Linked DNA regions of Homo sapiens: regions 1, 2 and 4 are each linked to region 3. The links are contacts of gene promoters, found by promoter capture Hi-C in human tissues and cell types (Jung and others, 2019). All regions are on one chromosome and are shown on one strand. The core of a region is centred on a gene start or on the middle of the fragment in contact, and the rest is flanking DNA. Distances in the headings are between cores, read along the strand shown.

Region 1 (7,185 bases), core at 2,413-4,912, 270 kb after region 3:
TTCAAGCTTGTGCACATAAAATTGTTCATAGTAGTCTTGAATAATCTTTCATGTTCCTGTGGTATCAGTTGTAATAGCTCTCACTTCGTTTCTAATTGAGCTTATTTGGATCTCCTCTCTTCTTTTCTTGATTAATCTCGCTAACAGTCTATCAATTTTATCTTTTCAAAGAACCAGCTTTTATTTTCATTTATCTTTCGTAACTTTTTTTGTTTCAATTTCATTTAATTCTGTTCTGATCTTTGTTATTTTTTTTTCTTCTGCTGCGTTTGGGTTTGGTTTGTTCTCATTTCTCTAGTTCCTCGACGTGTGACCTTAGATTGTCTATTTGTGCTCTCTGAGACTTTTTGATGTAGGCATTTAATGCTATGAACTTTCCTCTTAGCACCACTTTTGCTGAATCCAAGAGGTTTTGATAGGTTGTGTCACTATCATAGTTCGGTTCAAAACTTTTTAAAATTTCCATCTTGATTTCATTGTCGACCCAATAATAACTCAGGAGCAGATTATTTAATTTCCATGAATTTTCATGGTTTTGAGGGTTCCTTTTGGAGTTGATTTCCAATTTTATTCCACTGTGGTCTGACAGAGTATTTGATATAATTTTGATTTTCTTAAATTTATTGAGACTTGTTTTGTGGCCTATCATATGGTCTATCTTGGAGAATGTTTCATGTGCTGATTAATAGAATGTATATTGTACAGTTGTTGGGTAGAATGTTCTGTAAATATCTGTTAAGTCCATTTGCTCTAGGATATAGTTTAAATCCATTTTTTCTTCGTTGACATTCTGTTTTGATGACCTAGTGCTATCAGTGGAGTACTGAAGTCCCTCACTATTATTATGCTTCCATCTATCTCATTTCTTAGGTCTAGTAACAATTGTTTTATAAATTTGGGACCTCCAGTATTAAGTGCATATATATTTAAGATTGTGATATTTTCCCGTTGGACTAGTCCTTTCATCATTACATAATGTCCCTCTTTGTCTTTTTTAACTGTTGTTGCTTTAAAGTCTGTTTTGTCTGATATAAGAATAGCTATTCCTACTCGCTTTTGGTGTTCGTTTGCATGGGATGTTTTTTCTACCCCTTTACCATAAGTTTATATGAGTCCTTATGTGTTGGGTGAGTCTCTTGAACACAGCACTTATTGGTTGGTGAATTCTTATCCAATCTGCCATTCTGTACCTTCTAAGTGGAGCACTTAGGCCATTAACATTATGCATTAATTTTGAGATGTGAGGTACTATTCTATTCATCATGCTAGTTGTTGCCTGAATACCTTGGTGTGTTTTTTTTTCCCCCCCACTGTGTTATTGTTTTATAGGTCCTGTGAGACTTATGCTTTAAGGAGGTTCTGTTTTGGTGTATTTCGAGGTTTTGTTTCATGATTCCTGCTCCTTTCAGCAGTTCTGGTAGCGCTGGCTTAGTAGTGGCAAATTCTCTTAGCATTTGTTTGTCTGAAAAAGACTATATCTCTCCCTCATTTATAAAGCTCAGTTTTGCTGGATACAAAATTCTTGGCTGATCATTGTTTTGTTTAAGGAGGCTAAAGATATGACCTCAATTCTTTCTAGTGTGTAGGATTTCTTCTGAGAAATCTGCTGTTAATCTGATAGGTTTTCCTTTATAGGTTACTTGATACTGCCTCACAACTCTTAAGATTCTTTCTTTTGTCTTTACTTTAGATAACCTAATGACTATGTGCCTAAGCAAAGATCTTTTTCCGAGGTATGTCCCGGGTATTCTTTGAGCTTCTTGGATTTGGATGTCTACATCTCTAGAGAGGCCAGGGAAGTTTTCCTCAATTACTCCTTCAAATAAGTTTTCCGAACTTTTAGATTTCCCTTCTTTCTCAGGAACACTAATTATTCTTATGTTTGGTCATTTAATATTATCCCAAATTTCTTAGAGGTTTTGTTCTTTTTTTTTTTTTTTTTTTGAGACGGAGTATCACTCTTGTTGCCCGGGCTGGAGTGCAATGGTGTGATCTCAGCTCACCACAACCTCCGTCTCCTGGGTTCAAGTGATTCTCCTGCCTCAGCCTCCCAAGTAGCTGGGATTACAGGCATGCACTGCCACTCCCAGCTAATTTTGTATTTTCAGTAGAGAGGGGGTTTCTCCATGTTGGTCAGGCTGGTCTTGAACTCCTGACTTCAGGTGATCCGCCCACCTCAGCCTCCCAAAGTGCTGGGATTACAAGTGTGAGCCACTGTGCCCGGCCTTCATTTTTTTTTTTTTTTTTTTTTTTTTTTTTTTGCGACAGAGTCTGGCTCTGTCACCCAGGCTGGAGTGCGATGGCGCAGTCTCTGCTCACTGCAACCTCCCCCTCCCGGGTCCAGGTGATTCTCCTGCCTCAGCCTCCTGGGTAGCTGAGATTACAAGCACGTGCCACCATGCCTGGCTAATTTTTGTATTTTTAGTAGAGACGGGGTTTCACCATGTTGGTCAGGCTGGTCTCGAACTCCTGACATTGTGGTCCACCTGCTTCAGCCTCCCAAAGTGGTGGGATTACAGGCGTGAGCCACCACGCCCAGCCCTGGCCTTCATTTTTTAATTCTTTTTTCTTTGTCTGTCAGATAGGTTAATTTGAAAGCCTTGTCTTAGAGCTCTGAAGTTCTTTCTTCTGCTTGTTTGATTCTATTGTTGGAATTTGCCAGTGTATCTTGCATTTCCCCAATAGTGTCCTTCATCTCCAAAAGTTGTGACTGTTTTTTATTTATGCTCTCTATTTCTCTGGAGATTTTTCCATCCATATCCTGTACCATTTTTAAATTTCTTTAAGTTGATATTCACATTTCTCTGGTGCCTCCTTGAGTAGCTTAATAATCGACCTTCTGAATTCTTTTTCTGGCAATTCAGAGATTTCTTCTTTGGTTGTATCCATTGCTGGTGAACTAGTCTGATCTTCTGGGGATGTTAATGAACCTTGTTTTATCATATTATCAGAATTGTTTTTCTGGTTTCTCTCATTTGGGTAGACTATGTCAGAGGAAAGAGCCGGGGCTCAAGGCTGCTGTTCAGATTCTTTTCTCCCACAGGGTGCTCCGTTGATGTGGTGCTCTCTCCCTTCCCCTAGGGATGGGGCTTCCTGAGAGCCGGACTGCAGTGATTATTATTTCTCTTCTGGGTCTAGCCTCCCAGTGGAGCTACCAGGCTCTGGGATGGTACTGGGGAGTATCTGCAAGGAGCCCAGTGATGTGATCCATCTTCAAGTCTCTCAGTCATGGATACCAGCACCTGCTCCAGTGGAGGTAGCAGAGTAATGAAGTGGACTCTGTGAGGGTCTTTGGTTGAAGTTTTGTTTAGCGTGCTAGTTTTCTTGGATGCTGGTTGTGTTGGTAGTAAAGGTGTCACGTAGACAGAATTAGGACCTCTGGTGGTAGCCAGGATGTTGCAGGTGGTGGAGTTAGCTGCTGCTTTCTCCTTTCTTGGGACAGGGTTGTTCTTTCATGGGTTGCTGTAATGGTTTGTGTTAGTTGGCCTCCAGCTAGGAGGTGGCACTTTCAAGAGAGCATCAGCTGTGGTAGTATAGGGAGGATACAAGCTTGCTCTAGAGTCACCCAGATATGTATTCCCAGGCAGTGGGCAGGGTCATAGAGCTTTCAAGAGATTATGTCTTTTTTCTTCAGCTACCAAGGCAATAGAGAAAGATCGTCAGGTGGGGATAGGGTTATGGGGATCTGAGCTCAGGCTTTCCTTGGGCAGGGCTTGCAGTGGCCACTGTGGGGGATGGGGATGTGGTTCTCAGGCCAATGGAGTTATGCTCCTATGGGGATTGTGGCTGCCTCTGCTGCATCACACAGGTTGCCAGGGAAGTGATGGAAAGCCAGCAGCGACAGGCCTCAATCAAAGCCCACACAGACAGAAAGGCCAGTCTCACTCCCACTGTGTTCTCCAACAGCACTGAGTTTATATCCAGGCAGCTGGTGAGCAGGCCTGAGATCTTGACCCAGGCTTCAAGCCTCCTCATTGAGAAAGCAAGCACGGCTTTCAGGCTTCGCCCTTCCCCACCACTGCTTCTGCGCTTGTATCTGCACTTCCCATTCAGCCCCCAACTTCCAGATTCTGCCCTGGAAAATTCACACATGGTCAAAATTATTACAAATTTCAGCTGGAAGTTTCCTTCTCTCTGTGGTCTTTCCCCAGTTCCACTGACAACCCTCCCCAAGGGTCCCAGTGAGATAAAGTCAGAAATGGATTCCCTGGGCTTCCTTAGGGGCTGGGAGTGCCAAAGGCCTGAGAGCCCCTGGCAAACCACTGGTGTAAGTCCAAGAGTCCAAAAGCTGAAGAATTTGGAGTCTGATGTTCAAGGTCACGGAGCATCCAGCATGGCAGAAAAATGAAGGCCAGAAGACTCAACGAGTCTGCTCTTTCCATTTTCTTCCGCCTGCTTTATTCTAGCTGTGCTGTGCTGGCAGCTGATTAGATGGTACCCACCCAGATTGAGAGTGGGTCTGCATCGCCCAGTCCACGGACTCAACTGTTAATCTTGTTTGGCAACACCCTCACAGACACACCCAGGAACAATACTTTGCATCCTTCATTCCAATCAAGTTGACACTCAATACTAACCATCACAAAAATCAAAGATGTTCCTAGATACTGCATGCTCCCCTGTGAAGAAGTAAATGCCATTAATTCGATGGAAGGGAAATCACAAGACAATTATGATCTTGGCAACAATACTGATTTAACATTTTAAAAACACCATTCCCATTACATGTTTATTATTTCATATAATTCTCACACTGAAAAAAAATTTTCCCATTTTGGTGGGGAAGAATTGGCTTTAGGATGCACCTTGCCAATAATCACATGGCCAATAATTAATGGCAAAGACAGGATTACAACCCCTGTTCTAACTCCAAAGCTGGAATCCTTAAACACTCATAGAACTCTATTTTGACTAATCATGGTATTAGTAAAATAGAACCATAAAAAGAATATTAAAATTCAGACCTAAGGCTCAGTCCAGGCCAGGCACGGTGGCTCACACCTATATTCCCAGCACTTTGGGAGGCCGAGGCGGGCAGATCACTTGAAGTTGGAGTTTGAGACCAGCCTGGCCAACATGGTGAAACCCCGTCTCTACTAAAAATAAAAAATTAGCCAGGCATGGTGGCAGGCATCTGTAATCCCAGCTACTTGGGAAGCTAAGGCAGGAGAATCGCTTGAGCCCAGGAGGTGGAGGTTACAGTGAGCCACGTTCACACCACCACACTCCAGCCTGGGCGACAGAGCGAGACTCCATCCTCAACCCTTGATATACAGGCCCCACTGCAGACCAATTAAATAAAATTCTCTGGGAGTGGAACCCAGGTACTGGTGCAGCCTAAAAGTTCTGCAAATGATTCTAACTAATGTCCACCCAGGGTTAAGAGCCATACCAGTGTTTTATTTTCTCCTCAGCCTTTTCCAGTGCTTCTGACAAAAAGCACAACTGTCTGGTTTTGCAAGCTTGTGCTCTATTTAGGTATCGCTGCCAAGGTGAAAAAGGTAAAACAGTTAAAGACAGGCAGTTTGCAGAGGAGATAAAAGCAAAAGGCCCTAAAATTCAGAATTAAATCGAGGTGATAAGTTATGCAATACTAGAAAGGGCCTTAAATTGCTAGTGTTCAAATTCATTAAGCTTTCTGAAGATTACATGGACTCTTTTAGAAAATATCAGCTGGTAATCTGTTGTACCTGATCATATCAATAAATAGATGCCTTTTGGATTCTGTCTCTACACACAAATCATTTGAGGCAGAAGACAACAAATTACTTCAAAGTGCACGATATTTTTAATGTAACCAACCACTTAACTCATTTTTTGCCTGATTTTAATTCATTCCATCCTTACCCCTCCAAAATTGGTACATGTATGCAGATATGATCAGAGTCATTTTAATAAATGTCTGGCATTGATCAAAGGAAATATCTGGTGACTTTTGTTAATTAACTAAAGTCCGTAGTTTAAGATTCACACCTTGTGTTGTATAGTTTTATGGGTTTTGACAAATGCATAATGTCATGTATCCACCATTACAGTATCACATAGAATATTTCCACCACCCTAAAATTCCTCTCTGTTTTACCTATGTATCCCCGCTCCTCTGACATTTTCCCCTCAAACCCTCTGGCAAAACTGATATTTTTACTGTCTCTGCAATTTTATCTTTGCTAGAATGTCATGTAGTTGGAATCATACGGTTTGTTGCCTTTTCACACTGTTTTGTTTCACTTAGGAATATGCACTTAAGATTCTTCCATGTCTTTTCACAGCTGGATAGCTCATTTATTTTCTTGTTCCTCAATATATAATTCCGGAATGCTCCTATTTCCTTTCAGTACTTTAAAGACCTCATTCCATTAACTCCTGACTTCCATTATTCATGCTGAAAAGTTAGCTGTATGTCTTATCGTTGTTTGTTGAAATAATTTCTTTCTGTAGTTGCTTTTAAGATTTTTCTCTTTGCCTTTGGTTTCTACAGTTGTATTAAGAGGGGCCTAGATGAATTTTATTTAAATTTATTCTATTTGGGGATTCATAAACCTTTTTAATTTTAGCTGACTTCATATCTTTTCTCATTTTTGGAAACCTTGCTTGGTAGCTCTTCAAACATTGGTTCTACCACATTATCTCCCTCTTTTCATTTATAAATTTTAACTGAAAATATTCCACTTTGTTCCATATGTCTCTTACATTTATGCTTTATTTTATACATTTTTTCTCCATGTTCTTGTCCGAATATTTTCTATTGACCTGTCTTCCAGTTCATTGCTCATCTCTTTCACAGTCTAATGTGCTGTTAAATCCATATATGAAGCTTTTAATTTCACTTACTATATTTTTATTTTTATAATTTCCACTTAATTATGTTTTATAAATTCTCATTTTCTGGTAAAATTTTCAATTTTAATATCTGTTCTTTAACATACTAATCACAGTAATTTTTAAATAAACTTTTTCATTTTAAAAGTTTTAGATTTACAGAAAAATTACAAAGATAGTACAAAAAGCCTCCATATACCTCACACTATAATTAACATCCAACATGGCCTTGGGGTATAGAAACATTTCTTAAACAAGATTCAACAAGCAGAAATTATTAAGAAAAAGTGATCCATAAATTTGACTATACTAAATTTTAAATTTTGCATAGCAAAAAAATACCAGGAGATAAAAACATAAGATAAA
Region 2 (6,491 bases), core at 902-3,401, 340 kb after region 3:
AAATCATGTTCTTGATCACAGTGTTACAGTACAATAAGTTTTCATAGCTACATTGCATCAATTACCTTTTATTCCTCAAAGAATAAAATCAAAGTTCTTGTTACCAACTCACAGCCTGCCAGGTACCCTTTTCCTTCTCTTTGCAAAGTAAAATTTCTGGGGAGAATAAGTCAAACCTCCAGATGGTTCTCTTTATTCATGAAACAGTTTGGACAGCTTGACTGAAGAGGACAGGCTGAAATCCAGAAGAAAATGGGACCAAAATTCAAGTGCCCTGGCTGTGAGTTTTGGAAAACACTGGACTGCCATTGCTTTGTATAGAGGAAAAACAGTAGACAGTGTTTGAAACAGTTCTCCAAGCGCCTTTCCTATGTTGGCCTGCCCTTTCAACTTTCCCACATACCTGTTGGCCACACCAGTGGCCAGACTGTCCTGGGCACAGTGGGAGCGTAAGTTTCCCCATATTCACCCCATGGCCTTGTCTGCTCCACACCACTGCTCCCTTTGCAGCCTGAAACACACGTATGATTGAGAGGTAACAATGCCTAAATGTTCACTGATCTGAAACACTGCTCCTGACAGTCTCTGCCCAGCCCTATCAATTCTGAGTTCAGTATAATTTGGGGTTAATGAGAAAGGTCCTGCTTCTTAGGCAGTTCCTTGAACTCTGCCCAAGCACACAGAACAGTATATTCTGTGATTTGGGGCATCCATTTTAATATGTATAGGCAGGACACATTTGATAAAATACCTGATTTTTGCATAACCTGCTTTTTAAGGACTATCTCAGGGGCCTTTCACATACGTTATGGGCCACTAGTGACCCAAGAGCCATGCTCGATCCAAATTTCCATCTAAAGTTTGCCAAAGGGCCAAAATAGCAGCCAATCAGCTCACGGATGTATTTGGTTTGGTCAATGCCATGTTGTTACGACTGTTGTTTGAATTGAATTTGAATGCCTCAAGCAAGGCAGGCATTCCCCATTTTCCCCAGATTCCCCACTTCTGTCCAACCTGCCCATTTCATACATTCATTTCCATTACCTACCTAGTCCCTGCAGATGACTGAGTGGGCCCTGCATCAGCCAGGTGCCAAAAATGAGTAGTTGACACACCCTCCACTAAGGAGAAGGGTTAGGAGGAGTAGTCAACTTCCCCTCACTCCCAGCCCTCTACCCTGCTTATGGGGAGCACTTGTATAAAAAGGAATCTGCAGAACCCAGTACCAGCAGCCTGGGGACAGCACCTTCACATTTATGAACACAGATAGATACATATATATACATGCGTATGCAGTCTATCCATGAAAATGTACTGGAAACCAGGCGACTCCAGGGAAGGCCACTGGCTAGTAAGGGAGAGACATAACTTTCCCTGTACAGAAAGAAGTCTCTGAACTTTTTGACATGTGTACCATTGTATCAGCGACCTGTCATTCATTCCCAGACCCTTAAGAACCTGCATGGAGTGCTTTCTCCCAGCTGTAAAACCTCACCTTAGATTTTAGTGTGCAGCTCAAATTGTTCCTTTTCTCTATCATCTTTCTCAATCCTCCCAGTCAAAAGAAATCCCTTCTCCGTGCTTCCCATCGGCTTGTGTTGGATCTCCTTTGCCAGAATGCTGTAGCCTGCCCCACCCTGCCCCACTGCTCTCTCCAGTTTGTGGCTGCCCCTGATGCTTATTTTCACCTAATTAACCTGTAGAAAGATAAGCAGATAAGGGGTCCCTCTGGGACCCTTTTTCTCCCCCATAGGTCCTCTCATGCCCTGGGCATGTACTGCTGCCCAACAGAACTTTCTATCGAAATGTTCCCTGCCTGCGCTGTCCAGATATACTAGCTGCTGACCACATGTGAAAGCTGAGCATTCGAAATGTGGATTGTGTGACTCAGGAACTGATTTTATTTTATTTTATTTCATTTAAATTTAACTTAAATAGCGACACTTGGATAGGGGCAACCATACTGTACAGCTCAGTCCCAGAGCTTTCTTCCTACAGGGACAGCCTCACCAGCTGAACCCCAAGCACGTTTAATTTTCAAACAATTCAGTTGAAAGCAGGGCCACAAAGTACGTGTTTCTAAAGTACAAATTCAGTTTATTCATCTGTTTATGACACAGTACACAGGAGGCAAAGTGTTTCACATCATAGACTTCACTTCCAACTCCTTGGAATGTTCATTTCTTTGGCTTACAGGAGAGACTAGACAGGAAGGCCAGGCAATGCTTAGGCAACTAAAATGAGGTTGGGGGTAATGCTAACGTCACCCTCACAGGGATGGCCACGGGGACTGTTATTCGCAAGCTGGTTTTCTAGACCTGTTAGCTGGAAGCATGGTGAGCACCATTTCTGGACGCTCAGGCCGTGTCGGGCTTCAGTCATCTCCACCACACAGGTACAGCAGCGCTTTCTGGTAGTCGCCCTTAGTGTCTTGCTACAATGGCCCAGGAAAGAAAAGAAACGTGGTATCAGAAAAAAGCCCAGACTCCTCAATAACACAGAAGTAGCCTCAACGCACAATGAAGCTTCTCCCATGACAAAGAGAAGACTCTGCAGGAGACCTGCCCTGATACAAAGGCCTGGAAGGCCACACCCAAACCATTGCCAGGGAAGCCTCCAGGAGTGTGGTCGGAGGAGGTGCTGGGGAAGACACTCAAGGCTCCTTAGGACTGTGGGGTGGAGGGAGTGCAAGGTGCTGAGGATTGACATAGGTTAGTGACCAGGGCTGTTCTTACTGCAGCAAGGTCCTACAAACACCCTAACTTTCCTCTCTCGTCCTCGTCTTTCCACAGAAAACAGGGTACTTTCCTAGCTCACTCTCCTATTTCCTGCATTATTAAGGTCAAGTGGAAATAAGCTGGTGAGGTGAGGAACAATTACTAAGAGTCTAACTGGTCCTTTGACTTTAAACATGTGCCCTAATAAACCTGGCTACAAAAAATCCAGCTCTAACTTTATCCTTGCTAACCATGGGCATGCCTTTGGACATCTGAGGAACTTCTAGAAAGGGGAATTGCAAGGGCTGTCTGAAATCTACACAGTGGTACCACTGTGAATGCCATCACTTCCTTACTGCAAATGCGACATCACATCAAAACAGACAGATGCTAAACTGATTGGAGAGATGGGAGTTCTGAATAACTGAAAGTTGTTAGGCCTATCCCAGAGGATTTTTCAAGGAACCAATGCATAATAAAAGTAAAATGTGGCCGGGCGCAGTGGCTCACGCCTGTCATCCCAGCACTTTGGGAGGCCGAGGCGGGCGGATCACGAGGTCAGGAGATCGAGACCATCCTGGCTAACACGGTGAAACCCTGTCTCTACTAAAAATACAAAAAAATTAGCCGGGTGTGGTGGCGGGCGCCTGTAGTCCTAGCTACTTGGGAGGCTGAGGCAGGAAAATGGTGTGAACCCAGAAGTCGGAGGTTGCAGTGAGCCGAGATTGTGGCCACTGCACTCCAGCCTGGGCGAGAGAGCAAGACTCCGTCTCAAAAAAAAAAAAAAAAGTAAAATGTAACTGATCTTCCAAGCCTCTTCGGGATGTCAGCAAGCCTTGCAGGATCATCGTCATGAACACCGATGATCATTGTAGAGTAACAGATGTGAAAAATATAAAACATCTGCCTGATTGTACAAAGTCCAGGACAAATCACAAATGGTGCTTTCAAAATAAATCCCTGATAGTTGATGACTAGCATCTCTTCCCCAGAGAGTCAGAAAACAGAAAATCGCCACTCTGTCATCATTCTGCCAGGCCACCTGCCAGGGCCCGGGGTGCTCTGGACGGCAGGGCAGGCTGACACTGCACCTCGGGCTTACCTGGATATAATAGTACAGGGACTTGCCGTACTTTCTCTTGAATTCAGACCTAATTTTCAACATGTCCACTTCACTGCGGGAGACCATGATTCTGATCAGGACCTTATCTCGCGTCCCCTTGCCCTGAAAATCAAGTTGATATTTGTTACATTCGCTGAGAATGTTATCGTTAAAGAAAGCGTCTACAGGTTGAGCATCCCTGATCTGAAAATCTGAAATCTAAAATGCTCCAAAATCCAAAACTTTTTCAGTGCCGACATGATGCCACAATGAAAAATTCCACATACAGCACTTAACACAAACTGTTTCATGCACAAAATTATCAAAAGCGTTGTATAAAATTACCTTTAGGCTATGTGTGTAAGGTCTATATAAAACATAAATGAATCTCAAGTTTAGACTTGGGTCCCATCCCTAAAATATTTCATCATATATATGCAAATATTACAAAATCAAAAATAAATCTGAGATATAAAACATTCCTGGTCCCAAGCATTTTGGATAAGGGATATTAGGGCACAGTGTACACTGCCTGGGTGATAAGTACACCAAAATCTCAAAAATCACCACGAAAGAACTTATTCATGTAACCGAACACTACTTGTTTCCCAAAAACCTATAAGAAAGGAAAGACAGAGAGAGAGAGGGAAAGACAGAGAGAGAGAGAGAAAGAAAGAGAGAAAGAAAGAAAAAGGGAAGGAAGGAAGGAGAGAGAAAGAGAGAAGAAAGGGAAAGGGAAAGGAAGGAAAGGGAGGGAGGGGAAGGAAAGGGAGGGAGGTGAAGGCAGGGAGGCAGGGGAAGGCAAGGAGGCAGGAGAAGGCAGGGAGGCAGGGGAAGGCAGGGAGGCAGGGGAAGGCAGGGAGGCAGGGGAAGGCAGGGAGGCAGGGGAAGGCAGGGAGGGAGGGGAAGGCAGGGAGGCAGGGGAAGGCAGGGAGGGAGGGGAAGGCAGGGAGGCAGGGGAAGGCAGGGAGGGAGGGGAAGGCAGGGAGGCAGGGGAAGGCAGGGAGGGAGGGGAAGGCAGGGAGGGAGGGGAAGGCAGGGAGGGAGGGGAAGGCAGGGAGGGAGGGGAAGGCAGGGAGGCAGGGGAAGGCAGGGAGGGAGGGAGGAAAAAAGAAAGAAAAAAAAAGACAAGACAAGAAAAGAAAAGAAAGAAGAGCATCTGGGAATTCCAAACACACCAGGCTGTAGTCAGCACAGACTCCCACTCTATGCCACCATTCAATAAATATATACTGAGCACCTACTACTGCAAGGCTCAGTTCAAGCAGTCTGAGTCTCCATATGTAACAAGAGGTTCCTGACTCTTGCAGGCTTAGAGGGAACATGCCAACACATTTCTATCATCGCTCTGTGCCATTTCTAATGATATGTGCAATAAAGACCACTGAGTTTACTTCCAGAGCATCAGAGCGAAGGCACCAAGGGGTGCTATTTGATATGGAACTCAAAGACAGATGGCAGAGGCAGCACAGACAAGGGAGATGTTCCAGAAGGAAAATGCAAAAGCCTAGAAGCCAGAAAACACATGGCACACTTGAGGTGTAGAAAATGGGATGGGTCTACGGGAAGAGGTGGTTCGTTTAGGGAAGGGTTGTGGGGCTGTCTTTGGGGTCTGATAGACCCAGGTTCAAATCTGTCTGTGTAACTTCAAGCAGGCTGAGGTATTCTGAGCTCCATCTCTGCATTTATAAAGAAGATAATCATAAGCCTCAGAGGTTGTTATGCAATGATTTAAGGTAAAATAGTAGCACTTGTCCACTGTATAGTGGGTGCTTAATAATCGCTCCCTTCCTCGCTTGTCTTGACTCTGGCAGTAACAGGAAGAAATCACGGAGAAACCTAAGCAGGGATCAGACACGACTACCATGTCGCATTTTCTCTCTCCCATGGCACTTTACTTTTTGTCTGTACGCAAATACATGTTCAAGCAGCTGAGAGAAAGAAGACAGATTTGTGGTTCTCTCAGCTGTCACATACAACCACAGCTGACTAGTGTGTTCCTGCATCCACACAGTGGGGTCCCCTTCCTCCATCCATGAATCAAGGAGACTCAATTTGGGACCCAAAAGAAGAAAAGCTGAGTGTGGAAACACAGCTCTCTCAGCCAGCTGCCCTTACCTTCATGGAGTCATACAGCCGATCAGCAAAATACAGGGGCTTGTTCTGAATGCACTGAACTGTGGAGAGAAGAAAGGGAGTCAGCGCTGCAGCTGCTCTGGTCTCTCCTCTACCAATGAGAGAGGATGCCCTGGCCCTGGGCCACAAACCAGAAGTGACCTAATGCAATGGAAAAGGGCTGCAAAATAGGACAGGCTAAGGGAAATCTAGAAATCCTCTGCAATACTAAGTTCCACCACGGTTTTAAACCAGGGGTCTCTGAGGCCTGCAGAACCCAAGTGCATACGTGAGTTTCCACAACACACCCCTCTCTCCTCCTGTTCTCTTACTCCTCCCTGGCAACAATCTGTTACCAAGTTAGGCCTTTCTTCAGTTTTATATTCTGAAATCTATACAATTAAGACTGTAAAACTATCCAAAGCATGCATAGAAGCCACACCTCCCAAACACATTTGGATTAACAGGATGGCCATCTGTCACTTCTGCTCTGGTAGCTGATGTCTACCAGGAATGGGGGCCACATTCACTTACCCAGGTTCAGGAAAGCATTTTCC
Region 3 (7,042 bases), core at 4,035-6,534:
GCTGAGCAGGGAGAGTTGTTTTCTCAGGCATTGAAATTGCTTGCTCACCATGATGGGGGAGGGGGAAGAGGAGAGCGGGTGGCACCTCTTGGGGATGGGGATCAAGCTGCACCAGCACCTAACTCTGGCTACTCTTTATTTTATGCTTGAGGTAGAGGGGAAACTGGGCCTTCCACGCTCTCCAAACCGCAGCAGCTGCTTGGGATATACTATTAAAATGTGTGGGGTGTTGCCTCCCTTTACCTCACTCCCAAGCAAAACACAGATTTAACTCTAGGTGCCCCAGCCACAGCCAGAGGCCCTATTCACCGCTGGACAAGTTATGCTGGTGGGGACTAAAAAACTGACACCCTTGAAGTTGAGCCCCCCAGTTTGGATGGGAGTAAAGGGTGAACAGGAAGTGGAGACTCTTGTCTTAGAACCCCACAAGATTGAGCCCGGAGGGGAGATCTGATTATGGCCAATATACTACTTGTCAAATGTTTTTTGTTTTGTTTTTGTTTTTTGTTTTGTTTTTTCCTGTCTGTGATGAGTTAAGGTCCCCTTGTAGCCCAGTCACCAACGGATGAAATAGCTGGCTCCAAAGTTCCCCGGCAGACATTCTTCCCCACTAGTTGGAAAAAGTATGCTCCTGTGGCACCACAGTGCAGGGGTCGCTGGCGGGGGTAGGGGGTGTGGGTGGGTACGGAGTCCTTTCACTGCCCGTCGGCAGTTGGCACCAGAGCGGAAAGTGTGTCCCCTCCCCCGCCTCTCTCCCTTGGGCAGTTTGATTTCCCGCCAGACTCAGTCGGAGTGGCCTGGAAGAGCGGGCTCAAACTCCAAAGGCAGTCGTGGGAGAGTCGTAGCGGATACGTTTCCCCTGACATGCGCCGGGTGCTCGTCTCTGCCCCCCACCCGCCCCCAAAACCCAAACCTGCAAGTCGATGTTGTCCGGTGACCCCGGGAAAGGAGAACTTTCTGAGCTAGTTCCCTCTGGTCCCGAAATCCAGCACGTTAAAGCCAGGCCTTGCGGTGCTGGGGGGCTGGTGGGGGAGGCGCACAGACTCCGAGGACAAACAGCCCCCAGGACACTCGGGATGGCCATTTTTTTAATTGACCACTGACAGGCTGAGGGAGTTTGTTTTAGTGCTGAATACCCCAGGAACGAAATCCTTTTGAAAGGGAGGCTAAGTCGTTTCACGCCACCAAAGTGCAGATTTGAAGAATGACTGATGGGACAAAGAGGCGCGATGCGTTAGCGCGGGTTCCCAGAGCGAGCGCAGCACTGGGGCAAATGCGGGAGGCGGCCTGGAGAGGTGGGGCGGGGCAGGGGAGACTCGCAAGGCCCTAAAACCTGATATCGACGGCGCACCAGCCTTCGACCCTCTCCCTCAGCACATTTCACTGTCAATTTGGTAAAGGAGATGCAAAAAGCAGAAGGGAGAGGAGAAAAGTGTAGTCAAGAGGAGTGAAGGACCGGAGTGCTGTAGGAGAGGGGAAAGAAGGAGAGGGAGGGAGAGACTCAGACTGAGGAAGCGGAGAGGAGTTCAGGGAGACTCAGGGAGAAAGAAGAGGACCGGGCAAAGGAAGGCTTAGCCGAAACGCTCCAGGCAGCGCAGAGTTCATTTTCCAAGTGGGGACGACGGGTATTGTTTTTGGCACCTAGGAAACCTTCGGAAGCTGCCGGGTACTTTCCCTCCGCCTCCCGTCTATGTTTGGTAAATATTAACAAACCAGGGCGCGTTATTTTCTGGAGTGTGCATGGAGGGGCTGGCAGAGACTAGGGACAGATTTCCTCTCCTGGAGCCCCCGCCCCCAAAGCCCCAGCTCCACCCTTCACGCACACACACACCTGCTTGACAACAGAAGGAATCAAAATCAATATTGTATTTGTCACCCCTCTGTCTCCTTTTTACTCCCTCAGCAACCCGGGTGCCACTGAAGCGAATTGTGGATTTATGGAGGGAAATTAGCATAAATTATTACGAAATCTGTAGCCGTGTGTGGTCCAGCTTGTGGGAAAAGAGGCTATTGCGAACTCTCCAAGCAGAAAGGTGGTCGGTGGTGGGCTCTGCGGAGGCGATGAATGGCTATTGCACGAAAGAGATTTCCATTTGGTTTGCACATGGGTATAATTGACTTATGTGTATTTTATACAGTTTTCCCAACAACTCCCTAAGCCACCGGGTCGGATGTGCCTCCCCCCCCACCCCCACCCCGTGTTTGCTTTGGGTTCTGCACAATAGACTCTGATGCACTTTTCAAGATTTCTGGAAAGTGCTCCTTCCCTCCTCCTTTTCGTAATACCAGTCTTAAAATGCTGTCAATAACATGCAAATCCTCCCTCCCCGCCCTGGGCTTTGTAGACCTCCAGCAGAACCAAGATAAAACTTTGTAGCAAAGCCCAAGTTTTAAATGTGTTTCTCACAACTTCTCTCCTCATCCAAGGCAAACTTGTGCTACTGGGTTCGGTTTACTTAAGTAACCCTGGTCGTGTGCAATATGCGTCAAACTCCTATCTCCACACTAGCCAAACTTTAAAGATTCATCAGACACAAATTCCTACTTGTATCCTCGCATGTTCCAAACTTGGGGGTGACAACTTTCCCGGGGAGATAGACAAAGATTTATTCCAACTTCAGACTTTTTTTTTTAACCCGAACGTTTTTACTCTTAGAATTTAGTTAATCTCCTGTTTACTCTGAGCAATGATTTCGACAGGCATACAATGGCCTCTTTGCAGGGCAACAAAATGCCAATTGTTAAAATAAGAAAACACTTCTCTCTCCTTATTCCCCACCCTCAACACGCACCCATGCCGGTTAGAAAAGAATCTTCCTGGCTGTCACTGGGGGAACGGAGCAGAGCTTTCACTCCTATCTACATCCCAATTCCAGCCGCCCACGATATTTTATCGGTCTACGTATCAGTATGAACGGATGCACATATTTACTAAGAGGATCCTAAAAATTCCTGGGGGAGTCTATGCTGGTACCCTTCCACAGCAGGAGCGCTCCTGCCTTGCCCACAGTAACTGTTTTGTACCGAGGCCAGCTGTACTCGGGAGCAGGAAAGCTGTGGACCAGCGCCTTTCCATTCTGGGAAACACAAGCCTTGCCCACTATTCCTCATCACGGATCTCCCAAGCTCCCCAGCTCTTTGGACTCCCCAGCTCCTTCCTCCCCAGGACCTTCGATCCGAATCTGGCCGCACAAAGTAACCCCCCAAACGCCGCACCTCGTTATGACCTGAAGCGCGAGTAGCTGGGATGAGTACGGCTGCCTCCGGCCAAAGCTTGGCAGAGGTTCCACCCGAGTCCAAGTGGTTTATCTGCTGAGAAGGGCAATACATTTATCTGCCCTTCTCGAGCCATACCCCCAGAGACAGGTCAACATCCCTCCCCCAGCCCCTCGCACCCATCTCCTCCTCCCAGTTATTTTTTCCGAATTAAGAAGGTGACATTATTCTTTTCTTCAAGCACTTCTGTTAATATTGAAAAACGTGCGCTTGCATCTCAACCGAGGCAGCCCAGAGCCAGAGCCATTTCAATATTAATGAAATTGTTTAATCTCCTAAATTCATCGTGTTTAAGTTACGTTTTGGTGAGTTATTGACCGCCTCCGAAACTGTAGTTAATGAAGTTGTGTGTGTGTGTGTTTGTGTGTGTGTGCATTCGCGCGCTGAAAGATCTTTTTTATGCTAACCCCAAACAGCTCCACTAATAATGCTCTAATATCACTTAAAGTGTTGAAACTTAACACCCAGAATTCTCTACGATCACCACGTCTAGGGAAAAAAAAAGTTCTCCCATTTCTGGACTTTGAAGATGATTCTGTGTGGGCTGTAAGTATTGAGTTTTTAACAACGCAGTAAAATGAATGTCTTTTAAAAACCTTAAAGGTCGGAGAATGTGCAGAAACCCGTGGGAACTCCTGGTGTGTACTTATAGAGTGCGTGCATGCAGGCGGGGTCGACTCACTATTTATTTCATAGCAATTTGATGATGATGATGATGACGGCAGCGACGACGATGAGGATAATGATAATAATAATAATGATTCATTTAACCCTTCCAAGGCGAATCCGAACCGAAGGGAGCCTGCTGCTCGCACCAGGCGGAGTGACCCAAGGCACATTCCCCGCTCCCCAAGAAGGAAAACTCTATGGTTCTTTCCCCAAGTTGTAGAAGATACTGCTGTCTTAGTGGGATCGCAGGCGGCTTTTGCTACACTCTAAATCCTAAATAAGTTCTCCATACCAAAAAAAGCGGCAGTTGGGGGATGGGGGGTGGGAGGTTGGGGGGGTGGGAGGGCTGGGAAGGGGAGTTCCGGGTGTAAAATGAAAACTTCCAGGATGTGCCTGAGTCCTAAAGTTTCAAACCACCTGGGAAAAGCGAGAGCCCCTGAGGCTTACCTGGTGATAAACTGTGTCAAACAAACTCAGGCCCTCCCCAGGTCCGCACAACATTTGCCCCAACAGCTCCTGAGCCTCCATCCTGTGTCCAACCAAATTCCCGGAGGACTTTTAAAGCAAATACCTGGACTCTTCGCCCAGATACACTATTTTAATTTTTAAAAATTTGGTCAATACAGTTACATTCAAAATGGGTTCTTACATGGGGATGTCCAATCACATTTTGAAAGTATTTGTAAACCCCATCACTTTTTCAAAGCTACACACTAACTATACAAAGCTGAAGCAGCTGCATAGGAAAGTCAAGTCAAATTTCGACCTAACTCTCCGGGGACTGGGGGGCAAGGGTGTGTTTTCATTATTATAACCCATGCAACCAACCCCGGGTAGTGCTAAGCGCAGGAAAAGGGTCGGCTTCAGGGGAAAGCCGTGCCTAAAGTTACCTAACGATACAAACCGGATACAACGCAGAGGAAACAGAATACCCCAGCCAAGCAATTTCCATGTCAAACATCATCCGCGCGGCTGCTCCATCTGTGAACGTGAGTGGTCGCCTGGCTCCCTCTTCCGCGGCGGCCGCTTCCTCATACCTTCACACGGCGCACACCGGCCGGCGCGTCCAGCTGCCTGCCCAGTGGCCGAGGCTCTTCCCCCTCGCCCAGTCTTGAGCTGGAAGTGATTCCTATTGGCCAAGGTGTCCATGTAAATAGGTGTGAAAGAAACCAGAGCTGGCCGGGCTCTCCCTTCTCGCTCAGTCCCCTCCCTCTGCAGCCCCCGCTCCCCCTCCTCTTCCTCCTCCTCCCAAGGCGATTGTCATATGATAGCTAAGAAGTGGCACATTAATGAAGCGCCGCTACAGGGGTCTTTTCTGCTCCTGTCACCGCTTAAAACTATCAGATGGTTCGAGGGAGGACATGGAGGCAGCCACCTAGCTCAGCGGAGACGCGGAGCCCACAGCAGCGCCCTCCGGAGCCCTAACACGTCGCTGCCACCATCCGCGCCGGGACTCCGCAGCCGAGCTCGGCCGCCCGCAGGACGCTCCAGGAGCGTCGCGGACCGGGCGGCACGGGACGCTGCGGGGCTGAGCTCAAGAGCCCAGGTTCGCGCCGAGTCCAACCGGACCCGGACGCTGCGCGCGGAGTGCGCGTCGAGTGCGCGCCGAGAGAGAAGCGGCGCGCAGCGGCGTCCTCCCGGATGCGGACGCGCAACTTGAAGCAACTTTAAGGTGAGCAGCTCTCTGTTCCGTCCCTGCCCCCTATTCTGGCCCCAGTACCGACTTACTTCCCGGCTATCCTCGCGCCGTTCGCCGGCTTCCCCTCCCGCGCCCACTAAGCCCGCAAAGTTGCTGGCGAAAGAGTCCGGGCGCTGGCTGATCGAGCGCCGCAGGCCCCACCCCCGACCCCCGAAGTCTGTTACTCGGTCTGGCTGACCCCGCCGGTGTCTCTGTGCATCCATGCTACCTTTCCCTATTACCCACCCCCTTCCCAGATCCGAGCAGTCCGCCGGCCCGCGCGGACCCAGAGCAAGAAGAGGGCGAGGAAGAAGATGCCTCGGCCCGGCCGCAACACGTACAGCGACCAGAAGCCGCCCTACTCGTACATCTCGCTGACCGCTATGGCCATCCAGAGCTCTCCCGAGAAGATGCTGCCGCTGAGCGAGATCTACAAGTTCATCATGGACCGCTTCCCCTACTACAGGGAGAACACGCAGCGCTGGCAGAACAGTCTGCGCCACAACCTCTCCTTCAACGACTGCTTCATCAAGATCCCGCGGCGGCCGGACCAGCCAGGCAAGGGCAGCTTCTGGGCGCTGCACCCAAGCTGCGGGGACATGTTCGAGAACGGCAGCTTCCTGCGGCGCCGCAAGCGCTTCAAGGTGCTTAAGTCCGACCACCTGGCGCCCAGCAAGCCAGCCGACGCGGCGCAGTACCTGCAGCAGCAGGCCAAGCTGCGGCTCAGCGCGCTGGCGGCCTCGGGCACGCACCTGCCACAGATGCCCGCCGCCGCCTACAACTTGGGCGGCGTGGCGCAGCCCTCGGGCTTCAAGCACCCCTTCGCCATCGAGAACATCATCGCGCGGGAATACAAGATGCCTGGGGGGCTGGCCTTCTCCGCCATGCAGCCGGTGCCCGCTGCCTACCCGCTCCCCAACCAGTTGACTACCATGGGCAGCTCGCTGGGCACCGGCTGGCCACACGTGTATGGCTCCGCCGGCATGATCGACTCGGCCACCCCCATCTCCATGGCGAGTGGCGACTACAGCGCCTACGGCGTGCCGTTGAAGCCGCTGTGCCACGCGGCGGGCCAAACGCTGCCCGCCATCCCCGTGCCCATTAAGCCCACGCCGGCCGCCGTGCCCGCGCTGCCTGCGCTGCCAGCGCCCATCCCCACCTTGCTCTCGAACTCGCCGCCCTCGCTCAGCCCCACGTCCTCGCAAACAGCCACCAGCCAAAGCAGCCCCGCCACCCCCAGCGAAACGCTCACCAGCCCGGCCTCCGCCTTGCACTCGGTGGCGGTGCACTGACCCGCAGGAGCCCACGCCCCCTCTCGTTCTCCTCCCCACCACCTCACTCGCCTTCCCTGGCTCCCAGTCCTGCCGGCCCCCACCTGGGACCGCCACCCTAACTTGTTCATTTCACCTTCGGCCAACC
Region 4 (6,480 bases), core at 3,173-5,672, 300 kb after region 3:
CTCTCAAAACTTGATACCTCACAAATTCTAGAACTCAGCAAAAGGGAAGCCTCCAGATCCCCATGGGTTCTAACTTCTTCAAGCTGCTATTTCTCTCATCATTGTAACTACTAAAATTTGTGTATGTCAAAAAGGCCTCCATTAATTTGCTAGTAAACAGCCTCATGTACTCCAAAAGGGCTTAGTCCAAAAAATCCTACCAGCAGCAAGAAGAGCTTTGGGAAAATGAATAAACTGAAACTCTTAAAAATAGTAGTCAAATATTTTGAATATTTATGGCAAGATCTGTGATCACATCAAGCTTTCATAAACCACCTCCGATGCCTATCTTTGTGCTTCTTCCTGCTTTTTGTGTGCTCTTTGGTTCAAGGTAGCAATTGGATATATTCTCAAAGATGTATTTTCTATAGGAAAGGAGGAAGAAGGAAAGGAGAAGGAAATAGGGAATGGGAAGGCAGGAGAGGATGAGGAACTAAGTGGAATATGGAGGGGAAGGAGGGAGAAAAGAGAAGAAAGATACAATCACAGACAGATACAACAAGCATGGGGTTGCACTTCCTTAAACACAATAAGGGGCTAATGGAATGATTACAGTTGAGCAGCTGGAATGTGGGAGTCAGTTCTACATGAAGCAGCTCAGACGGCAAGCGAAGGGCAAATGTCAACCATCACCAAACACTGCTTCCTAATTCTTTCCTCGAAAAAATACAAAGAGAGTAAGGGAAATTAACATCAAAAGTTAACATCAGGCCATGCGCAGTGGCTCACACCTTGTAGTCTCAGCACTTTGGGAGGTCAAGGTGGGAGGATCACTTGAATCCAGGGAGACCAGCCTGGGCAACATGGCGAAACCTCGTCTCCACGAAAAAGTAGAAAAAATTAGCCAGGTGTGATGGGGCATGCCTATAATCCCAGCTACTTGGGAGGCTGAGGTGGGAGGATCACTTGAACCCGGGAGGCAGAGGTTGCAGTGAGCTGAGACAGTGCCAGTGCACTCTAGCCTGAGTGATAGACCAAGACCCTGTCTCACAAAAAAAAAAAAAGTTAACATCAAAAAGCCTCCTAGACCAACTTGTTCCCATTCGACTACTCCAGCATGTCAGCATGTCAGGTACCATTTGTGCACAAGGAAATGAGCTGGCCTGGCCTGTAGATTTGTCCTAGGAAGGCCGGATTCCCATCTGCTAAATGATGTTTCCAGAAGAAACCCTGGCTCTTGAGCAGCAGCAAAGGGTACATGGAAATTCAGTACAAGCACCGATCCTCTCAAAGCAGTTTTTCTAAGTTCCCTTGCATAAAGCAGGTTTTTTTCTCCGCTTAAACAACAACAATTTGTTTTACTTTGATAGGTCCTTCTGAATAATGGTTTCATCATTAAACATCTGGCTTCTTCTTAGCAGATTAGGCCTCCAATGAGGAAAGTGTGTTTATAATTCTAATTTGAAACACAGCACATTAATACGCTGATTCTCATAATGTTTGCCTTAACCTGTTTGGAGAAATTATGACTACAAATATCTTGTATACAACACCTGTAACTACCAGCTTGTACAAACAACATAAGAGCAGGAGCCGCCTCATCCAGACGATTGGAACCACTTCAGAGGCGATCATGATTAGTGCTTTGGCTGGAAGCCATATTTTACACATAAACTCAGCATCTGCCTCCGATATGCTGTCCCAGGCTAACAGACCCACCTTCCCTGTTACTAATAAGCACATTCACGAGCGCCAGATGGTCTGACGGGAAGAGCTCTGCCTTTTCCTGAGCTAGGCACACTGGAGGGAGGCAGCCTGAGCCGGCTCCAAGTCATATTTCCTCGGGCTCTAGGTTCCTGCAATGCTGCGTGCAAACAGGCGCCACTAAAAAAGAATGTAAATGAGGGTGCTATTCATTATTTACGGCTGGCACCTTGCCATCCCCTCCTCCTCTGGGCGACGCCTGCCTGTAGGAACAGGAAAAGCATCTGATGAGAGCAGGGCCATCGTGGAGGAGTCAAGCCATTGCGAACCAGTTTCTTACATTTCGCTGAGGATCCTGCAGGCTCAGCATTTCTGGCCCACGGGAGAGCTGAGCTTTTCACTTTCTTCCTAACAAAGCACTAGAGTTCCTTGGCCTCATGTCTGTACCAAGGGTGTTCATTTACAGTCTAACCTGAAAAAGCTGGCTAGCTGCTCTAATCCCATTCATTGCTGAGGTCGTTGGCCCCATGCCTGGGTTTGAGCCCAGGCAAAGAAGAAAGAAAAAGAGGGGTTGGGGGGAATGATGGTCTACACAGAGGAGACTTACAAGAAAGTTCTAGACTAAACCGGCCAGAAGTTGCACCCAAAGAATAGCTCACTTCTTTGGGTGAGTGCCTACAGATCTTATGCTATATAATGAAATGTTTCACAAGTTTATATCATCTCTCCCTAACTGATCTTAAGCTACAGGAGGGCATAAACTATACATTATACTTATTCTGAATTTCTTCAAGTGCCAATCTAACACAGTGTCCAGAAGATCATCACTAAACCCTAAACGTGGTTTTTAACTCTTTAAGTATAATTTTTTATTGACTCTAAAATGCATAACTTGGCATTTTGAATTGAATCAAAGTTAGCTGAGCACAAACAGCAAAAACTGACCATTCTTACTTCTGGGGTTGACACAGTGTAGCTCCATATCCAGCATCAAACCATCAGGTTACTTTTCAGTCTCATCTGAGAGATATTTCAATACTGTAATCCCTATTGTTTAAAAAAACTTAAGATTTGATCATTAGACATTGTATTTATGTATCAAATAACACATGTACCCCATAGATATAATTATGTCTGTATGCCATCTTCTCGAATGTGGAAAACTTTTTCTTGCCTAATACAAAACATGATCGCTACTAGGATTGGTCTGAACCCTTTGATTGCAAGTGACAAAACTCCAACTCCAGCTTTGTCAGAAAAGGGGGGGATGGATTTGTTGGTTTCTGAATTCAAACTATGAAAAGGGCAGACATGAAGCGAGACTCAGGGTGAGCTGAGGCCATTCTCCCTGCAATCCTCTTTCTCTTCTTTGTATCTATCTAAATATTTGCTTCAACTTCTCTGAACAATTGACCTCACACAATGGAAATATGGCTACAGGTGGTCTAGGCTTTTATCTCTCTAGCCACATGGACAAGAGTTCAAAACAAAACAAAACGAAACAAAACAAAAACCCTGCTCTTCTCCAGCAGTTTCAGTTGGAAAAAGAAGGGACCTAATTGGCCTTATGTGAGTCATGTGCCCATTCCTGGGCTAGTCATGTGACCAGGGGAGCCTAAATGATGATTGGCTCAGACTCAGTCATGTGTCCATCTCTGTGGCCCAGGAAAAAGAACCATGAAGCATCCATCAGTATTGGTTGAAATCTAAATAAAGCCATTTCCAAAAATAAGATGTGCTGTTACCAGGAGAAGGCAAGAAAGGGGCCTAGGTAAACTAAACATATATTCTCCACATTACTTTTGGGGGAAAAAAAAGCTATGCAAGGCCATAGGAATTTTTATTATTTCAGATATTCGCAGCAACAAACTAGTTTACTTCTTTTTTATTATTATTATTATTATACTTTAAGTTTTAGGGTACATGTGCACGATGTGCAGATTAGTTACATATGTATACATGTGCCATGCTGGTGTGCTGCACCCATTAACTCGTCATTTAGCATTAGGTATATCTCCTAATGCTATCCCTCCCCCCTCCTCCCACCCCACAACAGTCCCCAGAGTATGATGTTCCCCTTCCTGTGTCCATGTGTTCTCATTGTTCAATTCCCACCTATGAGTGAGAACATGCGATGTTTGGATTTTTCTCCTTGCGATAGTTTACTGAGAATGATGATTTCCAATTTCATCCATGTCCCTACAAAGGACATGAACTCATCATTTTTTATGGCTGCATAGTATTCCATGGTGTATATGTGCCACATTTTCTTAATCCAGTCTATCATTGTTGGACATCTGGGTTGGTTCCAAGTCTTTGCTATTGTGAATAGTGCCGCAATAAACATACATGTGCATGTGTCTTTATAGCAGCATGATTTATAGTCCTTTGGGTATATACCCAGTAATGGGATGGCTGGGTCAAATGGTATGTCAAGCTCTGGATCCCTGAGGAATCGCCACACTGACTTCCACAATGGTTGAACTAGTTTACGGTCCCACCAACAGTGTAAAAGTGTTCCAATTTCTCCACATCCTCTCCAGCACCTGTTGTTTCCTGACTTTTTAATGATTGCCATTCTAACTGGTGTGAGATGGTATCTCATTGTGGTTTTGATTTGCATTTCTCTGATGCCCAGTGATGGTGAGCATTTTTTCATGTGTTTTTTGGCTGCATAAATGTCTTCTTTTGAGAAGTGTCTGTTCATGTCCTTTGTCCACTTTTTGATGGGGTTGTTTTTTTCTTGTAAATTTGTTTGAGTTCATTGTAGATTCTGGATATTAGCCCTTTGTCAGATGAGTAGGTTGCGAAAATTTTCACAAACTAGTTTACTTCTACCAGCTCAGAAGAGTGAAGGCGAGAATTTGTCTTCCGAAAGTATGTTTTGTTTTTTTTTTTGAGACGGAGTCTCGCTCTGTCGCCCAGGCTGGAGTGCACTGGCACTATCTCCGCTCACTGCAAGCTCCGCCGCCTCCCAGGTTCACACCATTCTCTTGCCTCAGCCTCCCGAGTAGCTGGCACTACAAGCGCCCGCCACCATGCCTGGCTAATTTTTTTGTATTTTTAGTAGAGACGGGGTTTCACTGTATTAGCCAGGATGGTCACGATCTCCTGACCTCATGATCCGCCCACCTTGGCCTCCCAAAGTGTTGGGATTACAGGCATGAGCCACCGCACTTGGCCCTGAAATATTTTTAATCTTTCCCCAAACAACTTTTCAGAAGTTGAGAAAGCTTGCTGTCCCAATTAATGATACCTCATTTCTATTGTATTTTCATTGTTGTGTTTGTTTTTACCTTAATTGAAATTATATATGCAAACAGTTTAAAAAGCCATATAGTTCTACAAGGGCTATTTATAATGGAAAACAGTTGTTCTCCCGCAACCTTCCCTCCACTCCAGTAAAGACTTTTAGCTATTTATTTTGGTATTTACCTCTTGTAGTGAATTCTTACAATTTTATGTTGCCTCAGCATACATTTTGCGTTCTATTTTTTTTGTTTTTTTGTTTTTCTTATTTTTATTTTTGATTTTTGATATGGAGTCTCACTCTGTCACCCCAGCTGGAGTGCAATGGCATGATCTTGGCTCACTGCAACCTCTGCCTCCCAGGTTCAAGTGATTCTCGTGCCTCAGCCTCCCAAGTAGCTGGGATTACAGGTGTGAGCCACCATGCCCAACTTCAGCATCCTTTTGAATATAAGTTGGACATTCTCACACCAGAGGCAGGGCTTAGACACCCTTGACAAAGTTTCCTGTTCTCTACCTCTTCCCAATTCCTCAATGTGGTTGATCCAAATATCTCCCTTATACCACCACCTCCTGGTGACCACCTCCCTATGGGACAGCCAGATACAACCTACTTGACTTGTTCCACTGACCCTCTCACCCCACATGACTGCAAAAATATGCCACAGTGACCAGTTTTAAGTCATAATGTGACCCCAGGGAATTTGTGCTGGTTGCTCTAAACACACGAATTAGAACTCCCCAAGAGAAACCAGCCCGGGTAATACCTTGAACCCCGGTACCAGCTTTGGCCCACAGATCTCTTGCTCTTTCTCTTTTGCTCCCCATCTGCTAGTTGAGCTTGAGTGTCCTGGATGCCTCCCCACTTCTCCCACTACCCATTGGCCCCACTAGTCATGCTTCCATCTTCTTTCTGGGATCTGTAAGTAATGAACTGCCTGTTATTTCATGTGTGTTGTTCTGCTTCCTCTTCTGTGTCGCATGTAACTGACACACCTGAGCTTCTTTCCCAGTTAGGGCTCTTCTAGGGAATGGCTATCTTGTAGGAATAAACTGGACATAAGTCAAAAAGCCACCAGGTTGTTTACACTGGTGTCTGCCAGTGTAAAGAAGTTTTCTATGAGAGGGACACCTGGTCATGGGTCAGACACTTGGGCATTAGGTCATTGCCAGGATAAAGAAGTATCCCTTAAAAGGAACATTGTAATCATCCATGACCAAATCCCTAGAGCCCCATCAGGGCAGGGCTAGAGTTTATTGCCACTCTCATGAGAGAGACCTCAGGACCAAATTAGAAAAAAATAATAATAATACAACACCTTCATATTTCTAATAGCAAGTAAAAATTTCTCTTTTGAGTTTTTATTTTTAGGCATTACCTATTGGTTTTCCCTACTGAAAATATGCATTTAGCTCTCTCGCTGCCCCTATTTCCCAACACACACACACAGACCATACATGGGCATACATGCCATGCCTCTATTCCCCCAACATTTTTATCGTAATTTTGATTTTATCATTATTCAATGTTTACATTATGATTATATG

The links. Contacts are between HindIII fragments. The study calls those that stand out against the background at their distance.
Region 1: a fragment that was not itself captured here is called in contact with the fragment with the promoter of FOXB1 in region 3 in 3 of the 25 tissues and cell types used here (heart left ventricle, mesendoderm cells and spleen).
Region 2: a fragment that was not itself captured here is called in contact with the fragment with the promoter of FOXB1 in region 3 in 1 of the 25 tissues and cell types used here (liver).
Region 4: a fragment that was not itself captured here is called in contact with the fragment with the promoter of FOXB1 in region 3 in 1 of the 25 tissues and cell types used here (lymphoblastoid cells).

The regions. Positions count from the first base shown.
Region 1 is chr15:60,269,440-60,276,624 of GRCh38, forward strand. No RefSeq gene overlaps it. Among named protein-coding and RNA genes, the nearest start is that of ANXA2, 120 kb to the right of the region's middle. The HindIII fragment of the contact is 3,771 bases long and covers 1,778-5,548 here.
Region 2 is chr15:60,345,256-60,351,746 of GRCh38, forward strand. It overlaps ANXA2 (annexin A2), which reads right to left. Exons shown (of 13, transcript NM_004039.3): 10 at 6,469-6,491; 11 at 5,938-5,996; 12 at 3,820-3,942; 13 at 1,896-2,434. The coding sequence ends at 2,375. Among named protein-coding and RNA genes, the nearest start is that of ANXA2, 49 kb to the right of the region's middle. The HindIII fragment of the contact is 5,853 bases long and covers 1-5,078 here.
Region 3 is chr15:59,999,027-60,006,068 of GRCh38, forward strand. FOXB1 (forkhead box B1) reads left to right here and starts at 5,285. Exons shown (of 2, transcript NM_012182.3): 1 at 5,285-5,617; 2 at 5,881-7,042. The coding sequence starts at 5,938. The coding sequence ends at 6,915. RefSeq lists an enhancer at 4,966-5,481. The HindIII fragment of the contact is 14,342 bases long and covers 1,108-7,042 here.
Region 4 is chr15:60,297,939-60,304,418 of GRCh38, forward strand. No RefSeq gene overlaps it. Among named protein-coding and RNA genes, the nearest start is that of ANXA2, 97 kb to the right of the region's middle. The HindIII fragment of the contact is 3,629 bases long and covers 2,609-6,237 here.